Regions from separate parts of the Homo sapiens genome. Here region 1 is linked to region 2. The links are contacts of gene promoters, found by promoter capture Hi-C in human tissues and cell types (Jung and others, 2019). All regions are on one chromosome and are shown on one strand. Each heading gives the region's core, a stretch centred on a gene start or on the middle of the fragment in contact. The rest is flanking DNA. Distances are from core to core; before and after follow the strand shown.

Evidence for each region. The method cuts DNA at HindIII sites, captures the fragments that hold promoters and counts their contacts. A contact is called where the count stands out against the background at its distance.
Region 1: the fragment with the promoter of FAM83C here is called in contact with a fragment that was not itself captured in region 2 in 1 of the 25 tissues and cell types used here (aorta).

Annotation. Positions count from the first base shown.
Region 1 is chr20:35,290,881-35,293,870 of GRCh38, reverse strand. It overlaps FAM83C (family with sequence similarity 83 member C), which reads left to right and starts at 1,446. Exons shown (of 4, transcript NM_178468.6): 1 at 1,446-2,079. The coding sequence starts at 1,567. The HindIII fragment of the contact is 12,597 bases long and covers 1-2,990 here.
Region 2 is chr20:35,046,351-35,049,161 of GRCh38, reverse strand. The region is part of intron 6 of TRPC4AP (transient receptor potential cation channel subfamily C member 4 associated protein); the gene reads left to right. Among named protein-coding and RNA genes, the nearest start is that of TRPC4AP, 45 kb to the left of the region's middle. The HindIII fragment of the contact is 4,051 bases long and covers 1-2,811 here.

The sequences.
Region 1 (2,990 bases), core at 197-2,696, 240 kb before region 2:
CCATTCTCTGAAACAACCTTCCAACCATTTTCATACTCAGCCCTGGAGGAGGGGAAGAAGGCTGGGGTCTGGCCACCACCAGGCCAAGAACATCCCTGGAGTTAAGGGTGTTGCAAGCACAGCCATCTGGAACAGCATGTCTCAGGGGTGGGCCTTAGCCCACTGCCCACAGTGCACTGGGCACTTGTTTAAAAACTCAGGAATTTGAGGTTACAGTAAGCTATGATCACATCACTGCTCTCTCTAGCCTGGGTGACAGAGCAAGATCATGTCTCAATTAAAAAAGAAAAATGGCCAGGTGTGGCGGCTCACACCTGTAATCCCAGCACTTTGGGAGGCTGAGACAGGAGGATTGCTTGAGGCCAGGAGTTCAAGATCAGCCTGGGCAACATAGTGAGATCCCATCTCTAAAAAAATTTTAAAAGTAGCCGAGCATGGTAACATGCACCTGTAATCCCAGCTACTCAGGAGGCTGAGGTGGGAAGATCGCTCGAGTCCAGAGAAACTGAGGCACAGCTGTAGTGAGCTGTGATTGCGCCACTGCCCTCCAGACTGGGTGACAGAGCAAGACCCTATCTCAAAAAGAAAAAGAAAAAAGACAAGCTCCAGAAGCCTACGGACACCTTCTGGATGAGAATTTCCAGGAGGGTGGGGCCCGGGGATCTGCATTTCATCACCTCTCACCACCCCTGGGGTCAGGGTGAGAGCCACTGCTCTAGGTTCTTGAAGGACAGCTCCGAGCCGGGGTGGGAGAGAGCCAGGGGGCTGTGAGCACCACAGTTAAGATGATGGAGAGTGGCAGGACGATTATGGGAGCAAAAAGAGGGCTGGCTGGGGGACAGACCAGCGTTGATGTCCTTGGATATTCCATGTGACAGTCGTTCAGCTCTCAGGGCCTTGCAGACTTGAGCCAGGGCACGTGCTATCCACTGTGGTATGTGTTGTGGGGGTCATGGCCGGTCTCTACATCGGCGTTTGGGTGAAGAGTTTATGCAAGTGGATGTGATTACAATGTGTGGTCGGTCTGTGTCAGCCCACACTCCATGTCTGTGTATCGGTCAGTTGTCAGTGTGTCCATCTGCATGGGTGTTCATGTCTTTTCCTGGGTGTCTTGAGTCGCTCACCCACCTGCAGTGTGTGTGCGTGTGCGTGTGAGTGTGTGTTCCTGAGTCGCCTGGGCCCCTCTTGGCTGTAATTCAACCTCTGTGGGTCCCGGGAAGTCAGCATTTGGAGACTTGCTGGGAGCCTGGTGGGGATGGGGCGGCGTTGCTGGGAGGAAGAGAGGGAGGCAGGAGTGTGCACCGAGGGCCTGGCACTGCCGCTTCCCTGGGCAGGCGAGTCCCAACACAGGCAGACAGGTGGGGCTGACCTGACAGGTTCCAGAGGCCAGGGGCAATAGGGTGGAGCGTGGCTCTGATTTAGGGTGGCAACAGTTTGGGGGCCCTGCCACACACACAGCGAGCGGGCGGGCAGAAGGCGGTTCTGCTGGTCTCCTCTTCCTGCTGCAGCCAGCCCAGCGTGCGGGCCATGGGCCCTGCCGGCGGGTGAGGCAGCCGCGTGGCAGGCATGTTCGGAGGCCCGGGGCCTGGGGTCCTGGGAGCCCAGGGCATGGCGGGACCCCTGCGGGGCCGGGTGGAAGAGCTGAAGCTGCCGTGGTGGCGGGAGAGCTCACCGCTGGTGCTGCGGCACAGCGAGGCGGCTCGGCTGGCGGCCGACGCCCTCCTGGAGCGGGGTGAGGCTGCCTACCTGCGGGTCATCTCCGAGGAGCGGGAGCTGCCCTTCCTGAGCGCCCTGGATGTGGACTACATGACCAGCCATGTGCGCGGGGGCCCTGAGCTCAGCGAGGCTCAGGGGCAGGAGGCCTCCGGGCCAGACCGCCTCAGCCTGCTCTCTGAAGTCACCTCAGGGACTTACTTCCCCATGGCCTCTGACATAGACCCCCCAGACCTGGACCTGGGCTGGCCCGAGGTGCCACAGGCCACAGGCTTCAGCCCCACCCAGGCTGTGGTCCACTTCCAGAGGGACAAGGCCAAGAACATCAAGGACCTGCTGCGCTTCCTTTTCAGCCAGGCCCACACGGTAAGGGCCTCATCTCTCCATCACTCATCTCACAGAGGAGGAAACTGAGGTCCAGAGAGGGAAGGGACCAGCCCAAGGCCACACAGCGACTTAGGGGCAGAATGAGGACCAGCACCTCTGGCACTATTAGATTGCAAACTCCTAGAAGGGGGACATCCCATATTTACCTTGGCAACTGCTTGGTACCCAGGAATAGTATGGATGAGCATAGAACAGGGCATGGGTGTCAGGGACTCCACAATCCCCTGAAATGCACACGAAGTGGTGCAGGTTGGAGGGAGGAGTCCTCGCTGCATCTTTACCTTGGAAGATGCTCCACTGCCTTAAATCAGATTCTCAAAAAGTTTTATGATCCCCACACTAAGAACTCCAACCTTGGGGAACATCTGAGTCACCTCCTTCACTTATAGAAGAAGAAACTGAGGCCAGAGAGGGGCTTGGGACTTGCCCAGGGAGGTCCATATGGTGACATAGAGCTCAGGGCTTGGGGAGACAGGGGCTCTCTGACTTGGGTCCTGGGGACCAGTCCGGCCCTCCTTGCTGGCTCAGGTCCCTAGTTGCCCCCTACCCTCCTGCACCACATCTGCAGCTGGGCCTGAAGCAGGGGAAGGGGCCAGCGTGTGGGCCTCTTTGGCGTGGCCTTGAGGGCTGGGCTTTGGAACCAAGGAGGAAGGAGGAGAGGAGGCTGCTGGGCTCAGTGATGGGGAGCGGGAGCTCAGGAGAAAGAGAATTGGGAGGGCAGGTAGGGGTGGTCAGCACCCAGAAAGGCTCTGGCCACACACGAGCACAGCTTCCCTTCTGAAGCCCTGGCCTCCGACTCCAGGGGAATGGACGAGATGATCCCTGGCAGGGTTTGAGGGAGAGTTAGGCTCCTGCTGCAGAGATGGGAAGCCAGGATGCTGGGATCCCAC
Region 2 (2,811 bases), core at 99-2,598:
TACATTTTTGGTGTAATGCTTGTTAGGACCTGGAGCTCACCTCCCCAGTCCTAATCTGTCCTGAGCCTCCATGTTGGTTGCTGGTTGGCAGATTTCTTTCTCTTCCTGTTGAGCAGCCTCCTAGAGGTTGCTGTTGCAGGGAGGTGGATGTTCATGTGCACTGTGGTGAACCCAGCGTTCATTTCTTCTTGCTGTGCTTTCCCCAGGCCTTGCTTGTCATTGCCCAGCACAAGTGGCCTATTGTCTGTAGGAACACATTGGAGATGTGTGCAGGCCCCAGACAGACCCTTTGTGCCCTTTGATAAAAAGGCTTTGTTGTTATTCCAGTAATTGTGTGTTCCAGCCAGTGTGTGAAAGGGGACCTCCAGAGTGGAAACTCCAGACTCCTTAGCAGTCTCAGCATAGGAGTCTAGAAGTGCTCCTTCACAACTTTTCCCACTTGCCTCTCACTCCCTCTCATTCCTTTTTGTGTACCCCAAAATGGCGAGGTGTTCCACCAAACATTATGGGTATCTTGGTGCAGTTTGAAAGGGGGATAGATACCATAAAGAAAGTGGAAACACCATAAACTGGGAAAAGACATTTGAATTCAGGTAACCAACAAAGGATTTGTTGTATTCAGAATTTATCAATAATTCTTACAGGCCAGGCACGGTGGCTCATGCCTGTAATTCCAACACTTTGGGAGGCTGAGGCAGGCAGATCTCTTGAGGTCAGGAGTTTGAGAACAGCCTGGCCATCATGGCAAAACCCAGTCTCATTTTGTACTAAAAAATACAAAAATTAGCCAGGCATGGTGGTGCACACCTGTAGTCCCAGCTACTTGGGAGGCTAAGGCATGAGAATTGCTTGAACCCGGGAGGCAGAGGTTGCAGTGAGCCAAGATTATGTCACTGCACTCCAGCCTGGGCAACAGAGCAAGACTCCCTCTCAAAAAAAAAAAAAAAAACAGAATTCTTACAAATCAGCATGAAAAAGAGAAATAGCCCAGTAGACAAATGGGCAATGTTATGAACAAGCATTTCACAGACAAGAAAGAAATGGTCCATAAACATAAAAGAGAAGATGTTTAACTTGATTGGCAATCAAGGAAATGCAAATCAATACCATAGTGAGGGAGAGAGTGGGCAAATGTTGGTGAGTGTGTGTATCAGTGGAAACACTTGTATACTACTGATAAATGTTTATCAGCAGAATATCCTCTTTTTTTTTGTTTTGTAGTTGAACAGGCACATATCTTGTGCCCCAGCACCTAGGGAAGCTTTACCCTGAGGGCTGAGGCATCAGTATTTTGCCATGGGTTACCTATAACCTGTGCCTGGACACACTTGTGGGGAAGCTCAGTCCTAGAACAGTGATTCTTAGGATTGAAACCCAGAAGGTTGTAAAGTCAGTCCATCGGGTCTACCAGCCAAGTAGAAAAGATCAAACTGTATTGTGTAAGGGTATTTTTTGAATAAGTTTTTGTTTGACATTTCTATATACATTCCAATATGTATGTTTACTGGTGGTCGTTCTTGGTGATAGCTAAAAAGTTTAGAAGCCACTGCCCCAGCAAAAACTTCTCCACCTGTGCATCAAGAAACACATAAGAACATTTGTAGCTTCGTTGTTTCAGAACAAAAAACTGAAACCAAGTCTCTGATCCATGAATAGGAGAAGGGATGAATGTACTTTCTTCACACAATGGAATATTATATAGTAGAAATGAATGAACTGTTGCCATAGGCAACAACATAGCTGAGTAATTGAAATAATCGAGTGGTAGAAGCCAGTTGCAGAACACTGTAGGTAGTATATCATTTTCATAAAGCTCAAAAAAGCAAATTATTTGTTGATAAAACTAGTTTTTAAATGGCAAGGCAATAATAATTAATGATGGTGGTTCCCAGAGGCAGAGAGATGCAATAGGAAAGGCACACACAGCTAGTCATTTTGTTGTGCTGCATAATACGTATTGTACATATCAAAAATTAAAACATAAGAAGTAAATTCTTGGCCAGCCACAGTGGCTCTCATGCCTGTAATCCCAGCACTTTGTGAGGCCGAGGTGGGCAGATCACTTGAGGTCAGGAGACCAGCCTGGCCAACAGGGTGAAACCCTGTCTCTACTAAAAATATAAAAATTAGCCCAGCATGGTGGTGCATGCCTGTAGTCCCAGCTACTTGGGAGGCTGGGACAGAAAAATTGCTTGAACCCAGGAGGCAGAGGTTGCAGTGAGCAGAGATTGTGCCATTGCGCTCTGGCCTGGGCATCACAGTGAGACTCCGCCTTAAAAAAAAAAATCTTAAAATTTAAGACAAAACAAAAAACCATAAGAAGTGGGCTGGGGGTGGTGGGACCTGTTTTGGGAACCATATACTGAGTTAGACAGGGCTAGAGGAACTGGTGAGCTACAAGTTACAGTTGCCAATAATAGTAGTAGCTTACATTTGTTTTGTACTAGGGAAAAGGAAAAGTGGAAGCAGTTGTTCCCCAATGCCCCCTGCACAGCAAATTCCTGTCCTCCATTACTAGAAATAGAGGCGAGTATGGGATTCATGAGAGCTTCTAGGAATCATGCACTCGTTTTGGGCACATTCACTGATACCCTTGCTACCAGGTCCTGTGCATTGAGTCTCAGGAGAAAGGGTAGGATATATGCCTTCATCAAAGTATGGTCAGATTATTTGGGAAATAGATGCAGGAACAGATTATTAAAAGTTCATGTGATCTGTGCAGTGAAAGAGAAACACCCAATCCAGTGGAAGTAAATTAGTGGGATGAAGGATAGCAGGTGTTATCTGAGTAGCACGGGGATGGTTCAAAAT